Regions from separate parts of the Homo sapiens genome. Here regions 1, 2, 3, 4, 5 and 7 are each linked to region 6. Evidence: promoter capture Hi-C in 16 types of primary human blood cells and fetal thymus (Javierre and others, 2016). All regions are on one chromosome and are shown on one strand. Each heading gives the region's core, a stretch centred on a gene start or on the middle of the fragment in contact. The rest is flanking DNA. Distances are from core to core; before and after follow the strand shown. Region 1 overlaps CRKL (CRK like proto-oncogene, adaptor protein). Region 2 holds the start of LZTR1 (leucine zipper like post translational regulator 1). Region 3 holds the start of THAP7-AS1 (THAP7 antisense RNA 1). Region 4 overlaps CRKL (CRK like proto-oncogene, adaptor protein). Region 5 overlaps SNAP29 (synaptosome associated protein 29). Region 6 holds the start of CCDC116 (coiled-coil domain containing 116). Region 7 overlaps PI4KA (phosphatidylinositol 4-kinase alpha).

What was found. Contacts are between HindIII fragments. The CHiCAGO score rates a contact against its expected background, and 5 or more counts as called.
Region 1: a fragment that was not itself captured here is called in contact with the fragment with the promoter of CCDC116 in region 6 in 3 of 17 cell types (naive CD8 T cells, naive B cells and total CD4 T cells); the score reaches 8.4 in naive CD8 T cells.
Region 2: a contact is called between a fragment that was not itself captured here and the fragment with the promoter of CCDC116 in region 6, in 3 of 17 cell types (non-activated CD4 T cells, naive CD4 T cells and activated CD4 T cells). The highest score is 7.3, in non-activated CD4 T cells.
Region 3: the fragment with the promoter of THAP7-AS1 here is called in contact with the fragment with the promoter of CCDC116 in region 6 in 2 of 17 cell types (endothelial precursors and M2 macrophages); the score reaches 8.3 in endothelial precursors.
Region 4: a fragment that was not itself captured here is called in contact with the fragment with the promoter of CCDC116 in region 6 in 2 of 17 cell types (naive CD8 T cells and endothelial precursors); the score reaches 5.5 in naive CD8 T cells.
Region 5: a fragment that was not itself captured here is called in contact with the fragment with the promoter of CCDC116 in region 6 in 1 of 17 cell types (neutrophils); the score reaches 8.0 in neutrophils.
Region 7: a contact is called between a fragment that was not itself captured here and the fragment with the promoter of CCDC116 in region 6, in 2 of 17 cell types (naive CD8 T cells and naive B cells). The highest score is 5.7, in naive CD8 T cells.

What each region holds. Positions count from the first base shown.
Region 1 is chr22:20,922,439-20,925,675 of GRCh38, forward strand. The region is part of intron 1 of CRKL (CRK like proto-oncogene, adaptor protein); the gene reads left to right. Among named protein-coding and RNA genes, the nearest start is that of CRKL, 6.6 kb to the left of the region's middle. RefSeq lists an enhancer at 2,193-2,840. The HindIII fragment of the contact is 4,315 bases long and covers 1-3,237 here.
Region 2 is chr22:20,979,454-20,982,772 of GRCh38, forward strand. It overlaps AIFM3 (AIF family member 3), which reads left to right. Exons shown (of 21, transcript NM_001386814.1): 18 at 174-249; 19 at 567-671; 20 at 1,294-1,314; 21 at 1,539-1,905. The coding sequence ends at 1,578. It overlaps LZTR1 (leucine zipper like post translational regulator 1), which reads left to right and starts at 2,844. Exons shown (of 21, transcript NM_006767.4): 1 at 2,844-3,118. The coding sequence starts at 2,919. RefSeq lists enhancers at 1-241, 2,292-2,371, 2,422-2,521 and a silencer at 2,912-3,041. The HindIII fragment of the contact is 3,358 bases long and covers 391-3,319 here.
Region 3 is chr22:21,000,510-21,003,624 of GRCh38, forward strand. THAP7-AS1 (THAP7 antisense RNA 1) reads left to right here and starts at 1,413. Exons shown (of 2, transcript NR_027051.1): 1 at 1,413-2,320. It overlaps THAP7 (THAP domain containing 7), which reads right to left and starts at 1,609. Exons shown (of 4, transcript NM_030573.3): 1 at 1,323-1,609; 2 at 747-902; 3 at 138-278. The coding sequence starts at 1,402. RefSeq lists an enhancer at 463-672 and silencers at 1,273-1,442, 1,463-1,572, 2,214-2,604. The HindIII fragment of the contact is 5,606 bases long and covers 1-3,115 here.
Region 4 is chr22:20,948,163-20,951,370 of GRCh38, forward strand. CRKL (CRK like proto-oncogene, adaptor protein) reads left to right here. Exons shown (of 3, transcript NM_005207.4): 3 at 1,549-3,208. The coding sequence ends at 1,683. Among named protein-coding and RNA genes, the nearest start is that of LINC01637, 7.3 kb to the right of the region's middle. The HindIII fragment of the contact is 1,368 bases long and covers 661-2,028 here.
Region 5 is chr22:20,882,170-20,885,527 of GRCh38, forward strand. SNAP29 (synaptosome associated protein 29) reads left to right here. Exons shown (of 5, transcript NM_004782.4): 4 at 1,302-1,400. Among named protein-coding and RNA genes, the nearest start is that of SNAP29, 25 kb to the left of the region's middle. The HindIII fragment of the contact is 5,220 bases long and covers 1-3,358 here.
Region 6 is chr22:21,631,500-21,634,620 of GRCh38, forward strand. CCDC116 (coiled-coil domain containing 116) reads left to right here and starts at 1,261. Exons shown (of 5, transcript NM_152612.3): 1 at 1,261-1,328; 2 at 1,621-1,754; 3 at 2,523-3,071. The coding sequence starts at 1,683. RefSeq lists an enhancer at 993-1,492. The HindIII fragment of the contact is 2,744 bases long and covers 1-2,280 here.
Region 7 is chr22:20,850,429-20,853,886 of GRCh38, forward strand. All of the region lies in intron 1 of PI4KA (phosphatidylinositol 4-kinase alpha), which reads right to left. Among named protein-coding and RNA genes, the nearest start is that of PI4KA, 6.7 kb to the right of the region's middle. The HindIII fragment of the contact is 190 bases long and covers 1,243-1,432 here.

The DNA.
Region 1 (3,237 bases), core at 114-2,613, 710 kb before region 6:
GGCAGAGGAGTGACCTGGGGCTGTTATTGTAATCCAGCTACAAAATGATGGTGACTAATAGTGACAGTGGAGCTGTGACTTGGAGATGCCTATTTTGGAGATAAAATTGATTTGCTGGTGGGTGGGGATGAAGGGAAAGGGAAGAAGGGATGATTTGGTCTATTTGTAACTTTGTTATCTTCTGTGTTTTTATCTTTAACTGCTTTTTGTATTTGTGGTATTCCTATGGTGGATTTTATTTTATTTATTTTTTTGAGACCAAGTCTCCCTCTGTCCCCCAGGCTGTAGTGAAGTGGCATAATCTGGGCTCACTGCCACCTCCGCCTCTGGGGTTTAAGATTCTCCTGCCTCAGCCTCCCTAGTAGCTGGGATTACAGGCATGCACTGCCACACCTGGCTAATTTTTGTATTTTTGGTAGAGACAGGGTTTCACCATGTTGGCCAGGCTGGTCTTGAACTCTTGACCTCAAGTGATCCACCTGCCTGGGCCTCCCAAAGTGCTGGGATTACAGGTGTGAGCCACTGCGCCTGGCCTAGCTCTAGTGTATTTTTATTTAATAAGGGCTGTTTCCAGTTTAACAACAGAATGCTTCAGAAGGTAGCTTGCTTTGTTTGACATTTTCCATTTCTAGCTTGTGTCGATAGATAAATTCAGGCTATGAAGAAAAATTAGAATAAATAAAATTTTACCATTAAAAACTAAAGGAAGTTGGCCCTTCAAGAAAATAATGTACTGTACTCAGCAGACTTTGAGCATTACATGTACCTGGTAATATGGAACCAACATTGAATCAGACAGCCCTATCATGCTTCTGAGGAGCTTACTGGTTACTAAAAAAAAAATTTTTTTTTTTTTGAGACGGAGTCTTGTTCTGTCGCCCAGGCTGGAGTGCAGTGGCGGGATCTTGGCTCACTGCAAGCTCCGCCTCCTGGGTTCACGCCATTCTCCTGCCTCAGCCTCTTGAGTTAGCTGGGACTACAGGTGCCCGCCACCATGCCCGGGTAACTTTTTGTATTTTTAGTAGAGACGGGGTTTCACCGTGTTAGCCAGGATGGTCTCGATCTCCTGACCTCGTGAACCGCCCGCCTGGGCCTCCCAAAGTGCTGGGATTACAGTTATGAGCCACCGCGCCTGGCATTTTTTTTTTTTTTTTTGAGACAGAGTCTTGCTCTGTTGCCAGGCTGGAGTGTGGTGGTGCAATCTTGGCTCACTGCAACCTCCACCTCCTAGGTTCAAGTGATTCTCCTGCCTCAGCCTCCCAAGTAGCTGGGACTACAGGCGCACGCGCTACCACACCTGGCTAATTTGTGTATTTTTAGTAGAGATGGGGTTTCACCATGTTGAGCAGGATGGTTTTCTGTCTCTTGACCTCAGGGGATCTGCTCGCCTCGGCCTCCCAAAGTGCTGGGATTACAGGCGTAAGTCACCGCGCCTGGCTACTAAAAAAAAAAAAAATGTAAAGGTTGGCTGTGCTCGGTGGCTCGTGCCTGTAATCCCAGCACTTCGGGAGGTTAAGGCAGGAGGATCGCTAGATCCCAGGAGTTTGAGACCAGCCCTGGCAAGATAGTGAGACCCCATTCCCACAAAAAATTAAAAAATTAGCTGAGCATGGTGTCATGCGCCTTTAAGTCCCAGCTACTTGGGAGGCTGAAGTGGAAAGATTGCTTGAGCATGGGAGGTCGAGGCTACAGTGAGCTATGATCATGCCACTGCACTTCAGCCTGGGCAACAGAGCCAGACCTTGTCTCAAAAAATGAATGAATGAATGAATGTAAGTTGTATATATTTAATATATTTAATCTCCATGCATGGTGAAACAGCTGTGGGAGAACTGAGAAAGGGTGCTTAGTCTAACCTGAGAGCCCAGAAGAGGAGCCTCACACACCTGTGAAGTAGAAGCCAATCCCTGAAGGGACAGGAGGAAACAAGAAGCATGGTTGTGCCTCCTCTTTACATCCCCTGTTCTAATTATTTAAGAACTCAAATCTAGACTTCCATAATTTGGAATGGGGAAAGGATTGCCAGTAATTTTAATCAGCATAGAATTCAACTCTGTGAATAAACCCCTTTGCGTTTCTCCTGACCAGTAGTTAAAATCATGTGAATTTGATTCAGAGAAAAATACAAGAACATGGCCAGGTGCAGTGGCTCACGCCTGTAATCCCAGCACTTTGGGAGGCCAAGGTGGGTGGATTGCCTGAGTGCAGGAGTTTGAGACCAGCCTGGGCAACACGGTGAAACCCTGTCTCTACTAAAATACAAAAAATTAGCTGGGCATGGCGGCGTGTGCCTAAGAGGCTAAAGGCAGGAGAATCACTTGAACCTGGGGGGTGGAAGTTAAAGTGAGTCGAGGTCGTGCAGCTGGACTCCATCCTGGGCGACAGAGTGAGACTCTCTCCAAAAAAACAAAAAACAAGAACACTGTCATGCTGAGAATGGAATCTTGTCCAATTAAGAGTTGTGTTCCCAGCCGGATGTGGTGGCTCACGCCTGTAATCCCAGCACTGTGGGAGGCTTAGGCGGGCGGATCATGAGGTCAGGAGATCAAGACCATCCTGGCCAACATAGTGAAACCCCGTCTCTACTAAAAATACAAAAACTAGCTGGGCGTGGTGGCATGCATCTGTAGTCCCAGCTACTCCGGAGGTTGAGACAGGAGAATCGCTTGAACCTGGGAGGCAGAGGTTGCACTGAGCCAAGATCACACCACTGCACTCCAGCCTGCCAACAGAGCGAGACTCCGTCTCAAAAAAAAAAAAAAAAAAAGAGTTGTGTTCCCATGGAAAGTACTAGTAGCCATTCGATTTGTGACTTTTAAAACTCAAATCCACAGAATTGTGACCTAAATTTTTCCTTTTGATCTGAATGATTAGACTAGATTTCTGAGGGTCTTTAAGATTAAAATATTTTAATTCTGGGCCGGGCGTGGTGGCTCACGACTGTAATCCCAGCACTTTGGGAGGTCTGGCAGGTCGGGAGTTCGAGACTGAACCTGGGAGGCAGAGATGACAGTGAGCCGAGATTGCGCCAGCGCCACTGCACTCCAGTCTGGTCAACAGAGCGAGACTTCGTCTCGGAAAACAAAAAACAAACAAACAAAAAACATTATTTTAATTCTTTCAGATAAGTAAAAGGGGGCACAGCCTATTAGTTGGGAGTTCAGATTAACTTGAGTTGAATCTGAGCTAAAATCATAACAAGTTGGGTGGGGCCACCAGGCACATAGCAACTCACCT
Region 2 (3,319 bases), core at 820-3,319, 650 kb before region 6:
GCAGGGCTATGACCGCACTAGGAAGAGGCCGGTAAGAACTCGCTGGCGGCAAGGCTACGAACTACCTAAAAGGACGTATGGAGCAGGGCCTGGGCGGGGTTAGGAGGGGATCCTGTGACGTCTCGTTCCCTCCCCCGGCTCACGTGGGTGCCACCCACCTGCCCGGCCCACAGGCTACGGAGAAGGCTTCGACGACGTCATCATCCAGGGGGATCTGGAGGAGCTGAAGTTTGTGGCTTTTTACACTAAGTGAGAGCACCGGGGTGCAGCTTGGCGCGAAGCAGCGGGAGCTCAGTCGGGAAGGGGGATTCATCCCAGGCAAAATCCCAGAACAAGAGCCCAGCCCTGAGCCCCGCTGAGGAGTGCTGGAGCTTCCTTAGGAAAGCCCGAAGCTTGTGCACGGTCAAGCCGCGATGTGCAAAGCAGGGAGGGCTGGGTGCTCAGGCCATTCTTGTTGCCCTGGGGTAGGTCCTTCCCTGGGCCCCAGATGGACAGCAGTGCATCAGGGTTTTCAAAAAGGGGCTGCTGCCTCGCAGTCCTCAGGCTTGGCCATCCTCTCCTTGCAGAGGCGACGAGGTGATCGCCGTGGCCAGCATGAACTACGATCCCATTGTGTCCAAGGTCGCTGAGGTGCTGGCCTCAGGCCGTGCCATCCGGAAGCGGGAGGTGGAGTGAGTGTGGGTGTGGGAAGCCTGGGGGTGGGAGTAGTTCCCTGGAGTACTGGCTAAGGTGCCTATGACAGCCAGCCGCCCCCACAACCCTCCAGGGCCTTTCCCCTCTTGGTTTGCATCGCCTGAGGCTTACAGGACTACAGGGAGGTGTGGGGCAAGGATCATGGTTTGAGAGCAGGCTGGTTATGTGTTCATGGTGGATGGAAGGGATAGAGATGTGTGTCACCAGGCAGGGCCAGTGCTGTGGGAAGGGGTCAGGGCCCAATGCATGGGCAATCACCAGGCGTGGGACACCTAACTGGACATAGTTGTGCTGAGCCTGGCAGAAGCTAGGTGGGAAATGCAGCTACTGATGCCCTGGGTATGCCCTCCACATAGATGGTGGGGGTGGTTCTAGGTTTCACTCAACACCAGCCAGTTCCCTTATCCTGGTGTGGTGTCAATGAGATTCACCCTCTGGGAGAGAGCTCCCAGGGACTGGGGACAGCCTGGAGGCCACTGGGAGGCTATGAGACAGGGGCAGGCTTCAGGCTGGAAACAATGGAGGACCAGAAGGGGACATGATAAATGACATGCTCTCTCCTTGGCCTTCTCTCCGTTTCTCTCTCTTGCCTTCGTGAAGGCTGTTTGTGCTGCACAGCAAGTACGTGTGTCCTTCATGTTGACCGTTCTGAGCCTTTCCCATGTCAGCCCAGACCCTCCACCCAATGGTCTTATCTCCCTCTGTCCAAGTACACCTCCCTGCTGGGCACTAGGGTCTGGCACAGAACAGACCCCCTGCTGTCCTCAAGGGCCAGCTGTTCAGGGTGCCCAGAGTGGAGAGCCTGTTTTCTTCTGTCTTGACCCCTCCTCCCCTCACTCCTGCAGGACTGGCGACATGTCCTGGCTTACGGGGAAAGGATCCTGAGCTCACATGCAGTAGACTTGGGCAGGCAAAGGGGGCACCAAGGGCACAGGCCAAGCCTTGGGGGCAGGTGCCAATCTCCAGTCCCAGGATCCCCCAGGGCAGAACCTGAGCCCTCCCAGTGCTTGCCTTCAGCCACCTGGCTCCCCTCCTGGGAGGCCTCTGCTGGATCCAGAAGATGCTCAACCCTCAAGGCCTCTGCTGCCACTGACAGCTGGCACTGGAGGCAGGACAAGCCCTGCCTCTTCTCCCTCTATTGGGACTGGTCCCCTGAAGAACCCTGCAACACGTTAAACATTACCGTAAAATTAAAACGCACAAATTTGCAGATCTGTATGACTCCCAGTGTAATTGGGCCAATAGGCACAGGACCAGACCACAGGGAAACAGGCACAATCACAGAATGCCAGGTGCCACACCAAGGAAATTTGGCCTGTGAACGCCCAGAGGAGGTAGCAACTAATTCTGCGCCCCAAGCCCTCCCACATCCCTCTCCCCCTCTGCGATCAGCGAACGCTTTTTGCTTTTGGCTCTGAGTTTTGAAGGAAGGGTATTCCAGGTAGAAGGGACAACATGCCCAAAGGTCTTGAGATAGTAAATGCTCCTTCAGAGGTGGCTCATGCTTGACACTTTGGGGCATTTGCCCACTTAGGGCTGTGGGAGCTGTGTCCTGAGACAGACCCCATGCTTTTCATAGCCGGAGCATTCTCAATCCCCATGTCGGAGGTGAAGGAGCTGAGGCCCTGCTAAGTAGGAATGAGAATCCAGAGGCTCCTCGCCGGGCTGCCTCTCAGTCAGTAAGAAAGCCAAGGGGAGAGGGGAGTTGCTGGGGGTCAGGGCTGAGGGCGCTAGCAGGAAAGGGAGCGTTGAGCCGCCTGCAGAGGCCGCTGCGAGCCCGGAACCCTCCATGGGGGATCCCGGCAGCGGCAGACGATCCAGGCCGGAGCCACGCGCAGACCCAGGGCATGCCGGGAACTGCGAGCCGGCCGCGGGTCTTCGGGCTGCGTGGGCCTGGGAGGCGCCGGGAAGAGCAGTCGCGACGGGGCTAGGGACGACACACTGCATTCACTGGAAGGGACAACGCAGCGCCAGTACATAGCCTGAAACGCTCCCCAGAAGGTCCCACGCTCGCCGCGCGGTCGACAACCGCATCCTGCGCTCGCCCGCGGTGTCTCGGCAAGCGGTAGGCTTGTCGGGAAGAGCTGGAGGGCGCAAGTGCGGCGCTGGCCGGACGTGCCGCACCGTCAGCGCAGGGCTCGCCGGGAAATGTGGTTTCTCCAGCCGGCCCGGGGCGGTGGCCGCAAGTTGGGCTTACAGCGCGGCCGATCCGGCGTGGACCCGGGATGGCTGGACCGGGCAGCACGGGGGGGCAGATCGGGGCTGCGGCCCTGGCAGGCGGCGCGCGGTCCAAGGTAGCCCCGAGCGTGGACTTCGACCATAGCTGCTCGGACAGTGTCGAGTACCTGACGCTCAACTTCGGGCCCTTCGAAACAGTGCATCGCTGGCGGCGCCTCCCGCCCTGCGACGAGTTCGTGGGTGCCCGGTACGGTGGGCTTCATGGGGTCCTGAGGACAGGAAGGGCGATCTGCGAGGGTCCCAGGGCGGGTCCAGGGGCGAAGCCGGGGGGTGGTGTCCTGGGGTAGGATCTGGTAATGAGGTGGATGGTGCTGTACAGGACGCTGTTCAGGGCAGGGGAGAGGGTTCCGAGGGAGTCCCAGAGCCCGATGTCCCGGGACAGGGTACT
Region 3 (3,115 bases), core at 163-2,662, 630 kb before region 6:
ACCCTTAACACCCAAACCCGATCCACAGGTTCTGTGTAGCAAGAACCCTGTCCAGCGAGACTGCTGGCAGACACCCCTAGGGCCCAGTCCCTCAGCCTAGGGGTGGGAGTGGGGCATCCCCCACCCATATCACATACCGCTTCCTGCATCGTCTGAGCCGGCTGACTTCAGCGGGGCCAGGTGGGTAACTGTGTCCTTTGGTCTTGGTTGTCCGGCGCAACTTGGAGAAAGACTCAAATATGGTGGGGACTGCCCCCTCCTTTAGCCTGTGATATCCACTGCGGGGAAAAGCAACCCAGATGAGCTGGAGAGCAAGTGCTGCCTCCCCAGGCCAATCTGCCCCCAGCAGCAGCGCCGTGGGATGCTGGAAGGCATCGTGCAAACAATACGTCTGGGGAACGCCAAGTTACAGCTACACCAATCGCTTCCCCGCAGGACTCCTCACAGTCCAGGTGTGTGGAAAGCCTGCATAAGCCGAGCTGGGCTGACCAGCCAGAAAGAATTCTTTGATTTGTGGACTTGCTGGCAAGACTGGGGCTCTGAAAGATACTCTCTGGAAAGGCTCCTGTTTTCCCCTTGTGTCACAGGCACAGTGATCCTGGGGGTGGGTTTCACTGTGCAGAGCTGGGAACAGGAAACAGCCCCCTTGGACGCAGGCTGCTCAAGGGACTTCCATGACCTGCAGCTGTCCCAGTCCGCCGGGAGCCCCACATCCTACCCCAGCGTCGGCCGGCAGGGAGGCCCACCTGATTCCCACCAGCTCAAAGCAGTCCTCCTCAAAGTGTTTGGAGCAGAAGTAGATGTACTCGGATGCCGGGTCCCACAGGCCCTGGCCGCTGGGGTCCAGCCGCTGGCAGTTGGCCAGCCACAAGCCTCGCCTCGGGTTGTCCTTCTTGGGAAGTCTGTGGAGCCACAAACCCGTGAGCACCAGGCTGTCCACAGCCCTGGGCTCATGCTGCCCAAGCACCCCAGAGGGGAAACGCAGACCCAACACGCGCCGCCACGAGACCTCCCTGCGACCCCGCCGGGTAAGCACCACCGCCCGGGCACAGACGAGGCAACGGAGGCCTCGAGAAGAAAAGCAGTTTCCTCAGCGTCATCTGGCAGGTAACAGAGTGGGGCGGGTCCAAGCCGGCTAGACTTCCCGTCCTCCCCTTCCCGACTGCATTCAGTCCCGCCGGGACCGTTCCGCTTCACCTCCCACCCACAGGTTCAAGCCTCCTCAGTATCTGAGAAAGGCGCGAAGCCTCTACGCAGTTGCGACCCGAGGCGAGCAACAACTAGCGCATGCGCACGTGAGCCCGCGGCGCACGCGCGCTGACCTGTGGAAGGAGATGCCGCGGTTGCGCGTCTCGCGCGTGTCCCGTGTGCAGCAGCCGGCGGCGGAGCAGTGACGCGGCATCTGGGAAAGAGGCGGGAGTTAAGTCGCAAGCGGCTCTCCGGGCATCCGGAGGAGCCTCGCGCCTCCAGCCGCCGCTCCTCCCCAAGGGGCTCTGGCCTGTCGGGTCCCCCCCGGCCCGTTGTCGCCCCAACCCCGTCCCAGCCGATTCTCTTGACTTCTGTCAGCGGCACTCACGCTCTGGCCATTGCTGCGCCGCCGAAGTCTCGCGAGGGGTAGCGCGCGCCGGAAGTTGGTACCATAGAGACTGGAGAGCCGGAGGTGCCCCCGCCACCGGGGCGGGGCGGGGCGAGGTCCTAGCTAGCTGGGTTAGTAAGCGGCGCGAGCGTGCGAGTTTCTGACGCGCCCGCGTCGTCCCAGCTCCCTGGACTACCAGTATTGTCGCCCACGTGGGCTTCTCTTTCGTCCGCTCAGGCCTCACTTTTCTCCGTAAACACCCCGGCACGATGGAGCGGCCCCAGCGTTCGGGAGCGGCCCGGGAGCGGAAAGCGGCAGTGTCCTGGGAGCCTCGAAAGCCGCAGGGGCGGCAGCTCGCCTCGGAATGACCTCTGACGGAAGAAATAAAACGGGGCCTGGGACGCTTGCACGAAAGAACCCGACAAAAACCAGAGCCCGCACTCACTCTCGTACTGGGGAGGTGGACTTCAGGGAGGGTTATCTGGAGGAGGAATCTCTCAAAGTACAACACAGGAGAAAGACAGTATCGCAATACAGAAATTTTATTTTTTATTTTATTATTATTTTCCTGAGACCGGAGTCTCGCTCTGTCGCCCAGGCTGGAGTGCAGTGGCGCGATCTCGGCTCACTGCAAACTCCGCCTCCCGGGTTCACGCCATTCGGCTGCCTCACCCTCCACAGTAGCTGGGACTACAAGCGCCCGCCACCACGCCCGGCTAATTTGCAATACGGAAATTTTAATAGGTAATTAGCTCTCCTAGCGTTATGGTGGGGAATACAGAGGGATGGTTGCCTGCCGCACCCTCCCCTCACTATTCTTCGCCTTCTTCAGCCTCAGCTTCCACGGAATCCATGCCCACATCTTCATAATCCTCCAGAGCTGCCAGATCCTCGCGGGCCTCGGAGAATTCCCCCACTGCCATGCCCTCCCCCACGTACCAGTGCACTAAGGCGCACTTGGCCGAACTTATGGTCCAGGCAGGCCCAGGCCTCCGTGATGGCCGTGGTGTTGCTCAGCATGCACACCGCCCGCTGCACTTTGGCCAGGTCTCCCACAGGGACCACCGTGGGGGGCTGGTAGTTAATGCCCACCTGTCAGAGATGGGCAGCATAGAATGAAGTTTATATTGGCCTCAGAAATGGGAGCTCATTAAAAATCAGAGCTGTGGACCAGTTCCAACACTGTGTTTTAAGAATTGCTTCTATATTTTTTGGCATTATCTGTTATCTATCGACAATTAATATCCTTTGACGACTTTTTTTTTTCTTTTCTTCTCCTTCTTCCTCCTTCTCCTCCTTCTTTGTTGTTGTTGTTGAGACAGGGTCTAGCTCTGTTGCCCAGGCTGGAGTGCAGTGGTGCAATCTCGGCTCACTGCAACCTTTGTCTCCCAGGTTCAAGCAATTCTCCTACCTCAGCGTCCTGAGTAGCTGGGATTATGGGCATGTAAGATGGAGCCCGGAAGACGGAGATTTCAGTGAGCTGAGATTTCGCCACTGCACTCCAGCCTGGGCTACAGAGCGAGACTCTGTCTCAGAAAA
Region 4 (3,208 bases), core at 95-2,594, 680 kb before region 6:
CAGACTCACAAGTTAATTGGAAGGCGTGAGGTGTGAGTGTTCTTGGCAGCTTTCAATCCTTAGCCTCATCTTTAATCTTCCCGTAGTCTTCTTTGGCTGCTTAGTATCCATCACAGTCATTTATTAGACCCCGTTTTCAGCCTGTTCCTCATTGGTTTTGAGAGGACCCTTGTTGGTGACAAGGTTGGAAATCCTCTGATATATACAGTGTTGTGCTTCTCAGTGCTAATTCCAGCTCTTCCCTTCGTGCATCCAAAGGGTATGATCATTAGAGGGGGCGTGGGGTTGGGGGATGGGTTCTATTCAGGAATCTCTACTCAAGTAACAATCATTTAATTACTGCAAGAACCTTTCAAAGTTGGAAGGAAACTGAGACTTGGAGAACTTAAGCAGTTTGCTACAGTCATGTAGTTTCTAAAAGTGGCAGAACCAGGACATTTGTTTGGTGTCCTGCATGCTCCAAAGTTCATGGCACGGACCATTGGACTGTGCCATAAAAACCTTATGCCTGTTTTTATTTTGAGATGTAGTCTTGCTGCGTTGCGCCGGCTGGTCTCAAACTCCTGGGCTCAAGCAGTCCTCCCACCTCAGTCTGCCAAGGACCTGGAACTAGAGGCATGTACCACGATGCCTGGTTCTATATGTGTTTAAGCAGACAAAAGCTTATTTCTTATTGTCTTAGATCTTAGGTGGGTCTTATATTCAAGTAGCGTTTTTATGGACCTAAGTACACAATACAGAACCTTAGATTAGTGCTCTGCTGAACAGAGTAACACCCTGTCTACAATGACTACCACCTGAAGGTCTTTTTTTAAAATACACCTTTTTGTGTAATTTGACTTTAACCATTCTCAGAATCATGTGTTCATTTCTATCCTGTTGGGGTTAGTGGCCAAAATAGAAGGTTGGTGTGGGGTGGGGAGCTGCTTTGTGCTCAAAAGCTGTTTCTGTGTGTGTGTGTGTTTTGATTTTTGTTTTTTTGAGACAGGGTCTCACTCGGTTGCCCAGTCTGGGGTGCCGTGGCACTATCACGGCTCACTGCAGCCTCAGCCTCATGGGCTCAAGCCATCCTCTCACTTCAGCCTCCTGAGTAGTTGGGACTGCAGTCATGTACCACCACACCCGGCTAATTTTTCTATTTTTTAGAAGAGATGAGGTTTCACCATGTTGCCCAGGCTGGTCTCGAACTCCTGACCTCAAGTAATCCCAGGAGTTCAAGGTTACAATGAGCTGTAATCGGGCCACTGCATTCCAGCCTGGGCGACAGACCCCGTCTATAAAAAATTAAAAAATAATGTGCATGGTGGTGCACGCCTGTAGTCACAGCTATTCAAGAGGTGGAGGTGGAAGGATCACTTGAGCCCAGGCGTTAGAGGTTACATTGAGCAGGGATCTCACCACTACACTCCAGCATGGCTAACAGAGTGAGACCCTGTGTCTAAATAATAATGTATGGGCCCTTTGGATAAGGTAGTGTTTGTGATTTAATGTAAACTGTCTTTTTCTTGTTGCAGAGAAATGCTAACTTTGTCTTCTTCATCCATACAGGTTGGTGACATCGTGAAAGTCACAAGGATGAATATAAATGGCCAGTGGGAAGGCGAAGTGAACGGGCGCAAAGGGCTTTTCCCCTTTACGCACGTCAAAATCTTTGACCCTCAAAACCCAGATGAAAACGAGTGATTGCTGTTGCCCTGTTTCCTGCTGCTTTGTTGTTCTGCCTGTCCTAGTCTCCTTTGAAGTGGGAAAGCATTTTCTCTCATAGGCAAGTCACACTGCATTGCCGAAGTCCAGCTTTCTGCAGACTGGCAGTCGCACACACATTTGGAATGCACACAGCGGCTGCCTCCTGATGTTTGTATCATAGTCGTATTGTCAAAGAGTAGCCGATTTTAGAGTTCTTTTGGATCATAAACTGGAAATACTGATGGAAGCACACAAGTGGAGAGAAGTTGACATGGAAAGGGTCTTCCTTCTCATTGCTGCCCGTTTGTACATGGGACTGATTCTGTTGTGTTCACCAGAGAAAGCTTGAGGCCATGGCGAGATACTGCATGTTTGCTGTTCCACAAAGCAGTGGCTTAGCTGCCATCTTGCTTTTCTTTGGACAACAGGAAGTGAACCTTAAGGAAGAGAGAATTCTGTTCTAAAACTCCAAAATCTGGCTTTTTTTTTTCTTTTGTTTTGGTTTGGTTTTGGAAAACTAATTAATTAGACTTGTGTGGGGGTTTTTTTTTGTTTTGTTTTGTTTGTTTTGTTTTGTTTTTTTGAGACGGTGTCTCGCTGCATCACCCAGGCTGGAGTGCAGTGGCGCAATCTCGCCTTCCTGCAGTCTCCGCCTCCTGAGTTCAAGCGATTCTCCTGCCTCAGCCTCCCAAGTAGCTGGGACTGCAGGCGCGCACACCACGCCCAGCTAATTTTTGTATTTTTAGTAGAGACGGGGTTTCATCATGTTGACCAGGCTGGTCTCAAACTCCTGACTTCAGGTGATCCACCCGCCTTCAGCCTCCCAACGTGCTGGGATTACAGCCGTGAGCCGCCGCGCCTGGCCTAGACTTGTGTGTTCTAAACAGGTTAAGTAGCAGGTTGGGTTTTTATGATAGTGCAAGGAATGACTCATGCCTCTGAGCTTCTAAACTGAAGCTGCTGTAACTAAAGGAATCTGAAAAGAACAACCCTGAAGCAGAGGCCTTTATTGTCTTGGTTGCCAGTAGTACCTTGTTTTGCCATGTAGCAGACAACACACAAAATAATGCAGTTGTGGTGTGCCATGCTATGTGCACAGCCCCTTGGATTACTTTGTTTTAAAAAGCATCAGAGTTGGGGGTACTTTAGGGAAACCTTTGCTTACCTTGTTTTGCCAGTGATAAGAGCAGTGGGTTGGAGGGCACTTGGCCAGTTTTCTGTTCAGCTTTTCAGTGAATGTACCCCTTTAAGGTTCAGACTTAAACTTCCTTAAAAAGTGGCGTTGTTCATAGAATCGTTGGACTCATTAATGAATCGTTCAACTCCACTCACTGAAGCCCAGACCTCCGTGCCCAGGCCCAATCTCGTCAGGCTGCCAGAGAAAGTTGGTGCTGCTCATACTGGTCTCACAGTCTAAGTAAGTGTCTGTGATGCTCCCAAGCAAAGGAAATGCAAGCTCTGGAAATTCGTTAATGTATTTGATGTCTTAGTGTTTTAGTGACTAGGGAGACCATTAACTAGT
Region 5 (3,358 bases), core at 53-2,552, 750 kb before region 6:
TCAGCCCAGTGAGACCCATGTTGGACTTCTGACCTCCAGAACCGTAAGACAAGTTTGTGGTCATTTGTCACAGCATCAGTGAGGGACTAATACAGCCTCCAGCCCAAGCAGAAGGAGCAGCAGCCACATGGACAAGGTGTGCAAGACAGTGTTGATCGAATCATTCCACTTCTATCAAGTGATAGGCCCAGAAACATCCCTTATCTGGAAAGGAATTTAGGGCTCCTGGGGCCTCCTCCATAGGCCCCCACAATAGCCAGGTACATTGAAATTGGTGCTAGAAACCAAAGGCTTACTGTGCTGCCTTCAAGAAAACGATACACCATGGAAGCTCTGGAACCCACCATGGTTGTGGTTGATGCAGCTGAGGAGAGCCCAGATGGAGGAAGAGCGGGGAGCAGGAGAGACTAACATCATCAGCACAGTTCATTCTGGAAAGGCAAGTGGAGGAAGTGAGTGTAAATTGAAAGGCAAGGGCTGGGAAAACCGGCCTCATCACACCCTGGAGAAGGGGCACAGGACACTGCACCCAAGACACAATTTTAAGGAATTAAAGAGAGTTTTTATTTGTGCAGTATATATTAACTTAAAAGACTGAAGAAAAAATCGACACAGTTTGCAGAATGGTTTCAGTTGGTTGGTGCTGGAGGAAATGTGCTAAGTCTAGAAAGTGAAGTTTCCCTGAAAGAGATAAACCGGGATGACAGGGCTTTTCCGTGTGCGTTTAGAAACTGAAGTTCATTCAAGCCAAGAAAGATAATTTTAAAAAAGAAGAAACTAAAAGTTCAAGGAAGATTTCTTGTGGCAAATGTGCATTATTTAACATTTCTTTTTTTTTTTTTTGCGTATTTGTTTCAAGTGCAAAGATAGTGTAGAAATAAATTTCAGAAAGAAACGAAATTACCCATAATTCCATTTATGTAACGTAACAATTTGTATTTTTATACTTTGTCCACAGACTGTGTAGTTTTGCATTATTGCAGTTCCACTTCTGTATTGTCACTTGTGTGACTCTGTCTTTCCTGAGCTTGTGCACCAGGAGTTAGGTGACCCTTAATTTGAGGGTGTTTGATCTCCCAAGTACTGAGGGAAAGTGAGAACCCTCTCCTACCCCGTGGAAGCGTCTCTTCTTCTGGCCCATGAGCCTGCGCTGTGCTCCTCCCTCATCCCTCTGGATAGCCTCAGAACCAACCCCTTCGTTCCTTCCACCCATTTTCCAGATGAAATTGTTTTGGGTGTGTGAAGCAGCATTTGAAGGAATGTCAATTAACCGCTCTCCTGGTGTTTCCTTCTAAACTTAGACCCTGTCCCCAGAGGGGCTGGTTCTGCCATGAGTACTGATGCTTACCCAAAGAACCCACACCTTCGAGCCTATCACCAGAAGATCGACAGCAACCTAGGTAAGACTGAGCACCACACCAGCTTCTGTAAGCCACTGTCCTTCAGGCAGCTTACGCCAAGCATAGCCCCTGCATGAGCATCCTCCAGCTTCAGTTCCCTCACCACACATCACATCCCACGCCAAGCTGGGTCCATCTTGCCACCTCACTGTCTCTGGAATCTCTCCACTTCTCACCATTTCCTACTTCTAGCCCAGCCGAGCCCTCCCCACCTCTCACTTTCATGAACAGCACCAGGGACCCAGGAGTCCCTGAGAGGCCATAAAGTATAGCCTGGACGTGACCGCTCACTTCATCCTTCCCACCTGGCCACTCAGAGCCCTGTTTTCCTCCTTGTGAAATGGGCTACCTCTGAGAACAGTGGAAAGGTTACCTGAGCCAGAAAGTGCCTGGGATGGTAAGAGTTAGTGCTCGTGTTGCAATTGGCACTTTGGCCACACAGCCTCCAGCATGATGTTTCAAAACGGAAGGGTGTGCAGGGGGCCGGGCGCAGTGGCTCACGCCTGCAATCCCAGCACTTTGGGAGGCCAAGGCGGGTGGATCACCCGAGGTCAGGAGTTCAAGACCAGCCTGACCAACATGGTGAAACCCTGTCTCTACTAAAAATACAAAAATTAGCCGGGCGTGGTGGCAGGCGCCTGTAATCCCAGCTATCGGGTGGCTGAGGCAGGAGAATCACTTGAACCCGGGAGGCAGAGGTTGCAGTGAGCCAAGATCGCACCATTGCACTCCAACCTGGGCAACAAGAGCGAAACTCCACCTAAAAAAAAAAAAAAAGAAGAAGTGAAGGGTATATTCTTCCAGAACTCTCTCATGGAACCCCACACACTCACAGTGCAGTCCAGGCTCTCTTTGGCTGCCCTAGTCCCTTCTGCCCTCATCACCTGCAGGCTCGTGTGGGATTTCTGATGTGAGTTCTTTCTGCCTCGTGGCCCCTATCTGCCTGGATGGGCTCCCCCGACTCTCTGTAGGCTGGCTCCTTCTCTTTCTGTCAGTCTTGCATTAGTATGGCCTCCTCTCCCTGTCTCTCAGGACCCTTGTGTTTCCAGGGGGCTGCCCTGGCCGTTTGTGATTGTGTATCTGCTGGTTTGCCTGCTGTCTTCCCAATCAGACTGTAGATTCCAGGACAGCATGGGAGTGTTTCCATTTTGTCACTACTTTGTATCTGGGGCCCAGCAGGCAAGCACTTAGTGATTATGTTTTGTTTTGTTTTGTTTTGTTTTGAGACAGAGTTTTGCTTTTGTTGCCCAGGCTGCAGTGCAATGGTGCAATCTCAGCTCACTGCAACCGCTGCCTCCTGGGTTCAAGCGATTCTCCTGCCTCGGCCTCCCGAGTAGCTGGAATTACAGACATGCACCACCATGCTCAGCTAATTTTGTATTTTTAGTAGAGATGAGGTTTCTCCTTGTTGGTCAGGCTGGTCTCGAACTCCCGACCTCAGGTGACCCGCCTGTCTCGGCCTCCCAAAGTGCTGGGATTATAGGTGTGAGCCACTGCGCCCTAGCCAGTGATTATTTTTTGAATGGAAAAGTCAGTTACTTGAAATTCAAGTAGGTGTTGGCCTGTGGGCAGTTCTGTGAGTTTATTCTAAGTAGTGTCTCAGACTTGCTGCCTCCTCCTACCGCTACTCCCTGAGCAGAAATCTCCCCCGTGGTGACCTGGGTCACCCTGTCAGTCTCCCACCCCCTGTTAGGAGTTGGCAAAGTGTAGGGGACAAATAATAAAATCCTCCCCTGCTGTAAAGGTATCTAGTGGAAGGCAAAACTGAAACCCATGAAGATGCACATGGAGTGTCTGTGCACGGGTTTTCTCCTGCTTGCTGTCTGGGAAGCCCCAGACAGCTGCCACCTCCTTCTATGCCCTGGACTCTGTCCTCCAGAGCCAAAGACTTATCTGAGGCAGAAGGTGTGTCTGCCCAGATCTAACCACTCCAGAGAAGCCCAGAGAGGCGTGAAAGC
Region 6 (3,121 bases), core at 11-2,510:
AGAGGTCCCGAGGGTCTGCAGGTGGGAAGGAGGAGACTGACATTTATTGAGCACCTACTTGGTGCCAGACACTGAAAGTATTAGAGATTAAGGGTGACTTGCCTCTGTTCTGGCCCCAAAGAAGCACCATCTGATAGAAAAATAAGTAGCAACATGGTATGGTAGAGTCTGGAATGGGGTTTACTGTGAATTGCGTAGGGCGTGGCAGAATTCACAGTAAAAGGTTTTTGGAAGAAGTGACACCATGGTGGGGTATTACTGAGCAAAGGGGAAAAGGAGGGAGGGAGAGGAGGTAAGAATATACAAGGCTCCGCTGGGCGCGGTGGCTCAGGTCTGTAATCCCAGCACTTTGGGAGGCCAAGGCAGGCGGATCACAAGATCAGGGAATCGAGACCATCCTAGCTAACACGGTGAAACCCCATCTCTACTAAAACTACAAAAAAATTAGCCGGGCGTGGTGGCGGGCCCCTGTAATCCCAGCTGCTCGGGAGGCTGAGGCAGGAGAATGGCGTGAACACGGGAGGCGGAGCTTGCAGTCAGCCGAGATTGCGCCACTGCACTCCAGCCTGGGCGACTGAGCGAGACTCCCGTCTCCAAATAAATAAATTAATTAATTAAAGAATACACAAGGCTCCACTGGGTTACTGGGTGTGCTGTAGGGAGATTTTATTGAATCCCATACTCCCATATTGGAAGAACACTCAAGCCCATTTACAGTGTGGGACTAATGCTGAGAGGTTGAGTCACATTGGCAGGAAAGAGCAGAGCCAGGAACTGAAGCTAGGTCTGTGACTTAGAGCCGGCACTCTTTCCACTGCAGAGGGGAGAGGTCTCAAGGCAGAACCTGGGGCTGTGCACACCGCGGGAAGGGCAGAGGCCCCTGGAAACGAACAGGAGCAGGAGGCCCAGGGCTGCGCAGCAACCAAGGAGGACACGAGGAAGGTGCTTGTGCCACCGGTGGAAGACGTGGCTTTGGCTTTTAGGCTCCCCTCGGGGCAGGAGCAGATCAAAGAGCCTAGCCCCAGCTTCGGTGGTGGGTGGGGGGTCCTCCCGGCAGCGGGGAGCGTGGGCACCAGCATCCTCAGCCTGCGGCTCCCAGGCGAGTGTGGGAGGGCAGAGCCCAGAGAATTGGAGGTGGGGCCAATGTGGGCCCCGCCCCCAACCATTGTGTCGGAGAGGGAAGTGGACGAGCTCCTCGGTAAGAACCAATGAGGATGTGGTATGCAAATAAGCAAGTGGAGGCCGCCAGCCGACTTCCTCGCACTGTGCAGCTGCTCCAGTGAGGGCGCAGACTGTACTGGCCTGTGCGGAGCAAGGCGGTGTTTCTGGTGAGTCTGTTGATTCTGGGCTGGGGTGAAAGCCAGGTTGCCCAGGGTTTGGGAGGAGGGCGGGTCGAGCACACGCAGATCCAAAGATGATCGGAGACAGGATTGTCCTCAGCGATTCCACCCCGATGACTCTGGAAACTGCCTGCCTGCAGACGCATGGGGGCCATGGAGCAGAGGAAGGGCTGGATGCATGAAGGAGGCGGGGTGCGGGGAGCGAGGGACCCGCAGACTCCAGGGCCACAGATGCGTGGACCTATTGGAGACCCTCAGGTTGTCTCCCCACCCCACGCAGAGAGGAATGCGCAGCTGAAGAGAGAGGTGGGCAGCAGGCCCGGTCACCTGCCAGGTGACCACATGGCCAGGTGCCGCCACCACTCGGGTTACCTGGCCGATGACGAGGCCAGCCACTCCATGTGCAGTGCACGGGTAAGTGTGCCCAGCAGGGCGCCGACCCTTGAGGCCACAACATGTTCCCCACCAACCCTGGCACCCAAGACCACAACCCCCATTTCTCATTGTCTATTGACTTCTCTGGGCCTCTTAGTGAAGTCCTTATTGCCTTGACTTCTCCTATGTCCCCCACTGCTTGCCCCTGTCACACTCAATTTCATTCCTTGTTTCCTCCTGACTTCCAGCGACCCAGAAGGTGCTTGGGTGGACTGGGACCCTAGAGTGGGAGCATGGAGTTGACTAGGTGCCTATGGCTCAAGTTGGAGAAACAGGCCCGGGTAGCACAGGGCTCAAGACCTCAGGTGTTGTCTGCACTCAAGACCTCAGATGTTGTTTGCAGCCCTGCCATGGATACAGGGATGGCCTGCTGCATGGACAGATGAGGAGCTGGAGGGAGACTCCGAGAGATTCATGATTGCTCATCCTGCCACGTGTCAGGGCAGAAGCAGGCTTGCAGACTCCTTAGCCAGGACTTGTGTGTGTGAAATGTAGGTGTTAGGAAAGCTTCGGGGTGACCCTGAATAGACCTCCACTTTGCAGATGAGGACATTGGACCTCAAGAGGGGCCATCTTGCACACTGGCATCAGGCTGTAGGTGGCAGAGCCAGGGTCCAAACCCAGGGCTTCCAGACTCCAAAATGCAGCTCCTTCCACTACTCACTCCCACCCAGGTCCTAGTGTTACCCCAGGGAACCCTTCACCTGTAGGGCACCCCTGCCCCCTGTGACATACCTGTCTGCTCAGGTGCAGCTGCCCAAGAAGCCACTGGTCCCAGAAATGCGGCCAGCCTGCAAGCCGGGCCGTGTGCCACACCCACCATCCACATGTGGCAGCTCAGCACTCCAGGGCCAACGCCGAAACAAGAGGCACCCTCAGCCCTTTGGCCACTTTCTGGATTTCCTAACTGAGAGCCAGGTCCTGGACAGCCTGGAGACAGTGGTGGAGAAGGCGACTGAGCGCATGGCTGCCATGAAGACGGAGGCTGGGGTGCCGCTTGTGGAGGTGCAGGACCCAGTGGAGGTGCCAAGTGGTGGACGGCGGGCACATGCCCGGCCCAGCCTCAGCACCGTACACCGGCACCGTGTACGGCCGACCCTCTGCACTGGACACCCCAACAACTACCCATCCAGCTCCAGCTCCATGTCCAACTGCCATAGCAGCCTCATGGCCGGCTGTCTGGGCTCCCACAGCCGGGACAGTGACCTAGGTGCCCAAGGCTCATTGCCACCTGTGAGGGACAAACTCCTGCTGGAGAAGAACCTCAAGCGGCTGCTACAGCTGGAGAGGGAAGGGGTGAGAGCCAGGGCCATGGCTGGGTGGGGTGGACTCCCATGGAGAGCCCA
Region 7 (3,458 bases), core at 88-2,587, 780 kb before region 6:
TAAATACTCATTTAAAAAAAAATTTTTTTTTTTGAGACGGTGTCTTGCTCTGTCACCCAGGCTGGAGTGCAGTGGCGTGATCTCAGCTCACTGCAAGCTCCGCCTCCCAGGTTCATGCCATTCTCCTGCCTCAGCCTCCCCAGTAGCTGGGACTACAGGCCACCACGCCCAGCTAATTTTTTGTATTTTTAGTAGAGACGGGGTTTCACCGTGTTAGCCAGGATGGTCTGGATTTCCTGACCTCGTGATCCGCCCGCCTCGGCCTCCCAAAGTGCTGGGATTACAGGTGTGAGCCACCGCGCCCGGCCTACTAAAATTTTTTAAAATTTTCGCTGGGTACAGTGACTCAAGCCTATAATCTCAGCACTTTGAGAGGCTGAGGTGAGTGGATCACTTGAGCCCACGGTTTGAGCTAAGCCTGGGCAAGATAGTAAGACCCCATCTCTAAAAAAATTTTTCTTTTTTTACTTAGCCAGGTACAATGTGCGTGCCTGTAGTCCCAACTACTTGGGAGGCTGAGGCAGGAGGATCCCTCAAACCAAGGAATTCAAGGTGGTAGTAAGTTATGATCATGCCACTGCACTCCAGCCTGAGTGAAAAAGCAAAACTGTCTCCAAAAAAATGTAATTTCTATTTTTAAAAATGTCTAGGCCAGGCACAGTGGCTCATGCCTATAATCCCAGCACTTTGCGAGGCCGAAGTGGGCAGACGGCTTGAGCCCTGGAATTTGAGACCAGCTTGGGCAACACAGTGAGACCCTATCTATTTTTTTTTTAATGTCTATTTATCCACCCCTCTAATACCAGGGCCTAGCACAGTGCCTGCAACACAGCAAACCCCCAAAGATTTATCATATGAACGGATGGTGCCATCTTTTGCTTTCATAATAGTATAGCCTTGGGTTTTTTTTGTTGTTGTTGTTGTTTTTTGTGTGACGGAGTCTTGCTCTGTCGCCCAGGCTGGAGTGCCGTGGTGCAATCTCAGCTCACCACACCACCTCCCGGGTTCAAGCAATTCTCCTGTCTTAGCCTCCCAAGTAGCTGGGCTTACAGGCGCACACCACCACGCCCTGCTAATTTTTGTATTTTTAGTAGAGACAGGGTTGCACCATGTTGGCCAGGCTGGTCTCGAACTCCTGACCTCAGGTGATGTGCCTGCCTCAGCCTCCCAAAGTGCTGGGATTACAGGCGTGAGCCACTGTGCCCGGCTGCGTTGGTTATCCTGAATCCAGGCTTCCAGATAAGCTTTAAACACAGAAAAACATTCAGGAAAAGAGAATGGCTTCTGCAGCAGAGACAGAGCCTCTCAGGACTCAATAAACAAATGCAAGTGAGACCTGAGGATTTCTGCCTCAACTCTGTATTTATTTGTCAGTTTACCACACAAATGAAAGTAGCGTTCTGGCCAACTTGGCAATGTTCATGAAAGGCCAAGCTTTTCTCCAGCATGCCAACATATACAACAAAAGCAAATACAAAAATAAAAATATAAATAAGCCATCCTGGCTAACACAGTGAAACCCTGTCTCTACTAAAAATACAAAAAATTAGCCGGGCGTGGTGGCGGGCGCCTGTAGTCCCAGCTACTCGGGAGGCTGAAGCAGGAGAATGGCATGAACCCAGGAGGCAGAGCTTGCAGTGAGCAGAGATCACGCCACTGCACTCCAGCCTGGGTGACAGAGCAAGACTCCATCTCAAAAAGTAAATAAATAAATAAACAAATAAGCAATCAGGAAGATAAAATGCATAAATTTCAGCAACTGACGTCAATGATGGAAATAGCTGCTGGTGGGAAAGATTAGAGGCAACCACACCTCCAATGAGTGCAAACTGCAAACACAGACAGCAGAAAAGAGAATCTGCAGTAAGGAGTGAGAAATAGAACATTTCTGCCCCCTGGGGAGACAAACAGCTGGTGACACAGGAGGGCACTGAGGGAAGGCTACGTGAAGGCAGAGGGAGAAAGTGGCCTCGGAAGAAATCAACATTGCTGACACCTTCATCTTGAACTTCTAACTTCCAGAATGAGGAGGAAATATATCTGTGTTGTTTAAGCCAGTCTGTGGTACTTTGTTATGGCAGCCTAGCAAACTAATAGTTAATATGGCATGGTTACAGGTAAAGATTTTTTCTTCTTCCAATTTCTTCTTAAAATATTTTCTAGTTGATTTAATAACAATGATTCTGGCACCGCGTATACCCTCCGCTGACCCTCATTATCTCTCTCCTCTCGCTCTACGGATGGCTCTTCTTAACATAGCCTCACAAAGCAAAGGGAAAGAGGATAGGAAATTCTTGGCTTCATGATACTGGAAAAACGCCAACACTATGATTTTTACTCCATGGCAGACCACTCTAAAGTACAGACTGAATAACCATGAACTCCAGAAAGCCCACTACCCTAAGCACCAAGCCACATATTCTCCCAACTACAGATTAGAATTAACTCATCTTATGGAGCACATATGTCCACCAAGGAGGGTTCAGCCTGTCCCTAATGCCGCAGTGCCATTTAAACATCAGATCGGGCTGGGTGCAGCAGCTCACACCTGTAATCCCAGCACTTTGGGCGGCCAAGAAAAGAGAATCACTTGAGCCCAGAAATCTGAGACCAGCCTGGGCAAAATGGTGAGACTCCGTCTCTATTTTCTTTCAAAAACCAGATCAATAGTTAGCTACGACACCTCAGGATTCTGGCATTCTAACTGAAGAAAACAAAGAGAACATTTTAGGACATGGAAAAAGGGCTCTGATCAAAGCCTCCTGAGGGTGGGGAGAGGAATAGAAGGACAAGGAATGCTATCTACTTTGCAGCTCTGCCCATGACTCTCGGTATCCCAGGATCGAGGGCCCACTGGTTTAATACAGGCCTATAGAGGAGAGACACAAACAGGCCACTGAACTTCCCTGACAAAGGAAGATTAACCAGGCAGGGCCAGGAGGAAGCTTAGTAGGGGTGGCTCAGCAACATTCTGAAGACAGGTGAGAACCAGGAAAGCAGAACAAGACTAGCGGGCAGATAGAAATCAGGAAGGAGGAGTCTGGAAGCCAACTGTATATGGAGATCCCAATGTTGAAAAGCCTCACTTTCTTTCTTGCCTATTTTTTTCTTCTTATCTTTCTCCCAGAGGGAGAGGGCTGAGGACTGGGTAGGATTTGGTTCAAAGGGCTTCACAGACAGAGTGTCCTCTGAGGTGGGTTCCAATCCTGGGGGTGGGACCCCAGTCTAAAGCACAGCCTAGCAGGAAAAGCTCAAAGCTCAGCCATGGATCAGAACAGATGCTCAAGGGTCTTGGCTTTGGCTATGGGAACATGGCAGGAGTCTAGTCACCAGACCTGAAATATGAGAGTAGAATGGGATCTTGGTCAGGTTGGGGTAGCTCACACCTGTAATCCCAGCACTTTGGGAGGCGAAGGCAGGAGGATCCCTTAAGCCCTGGAATTTGAGACCAGCTTGGG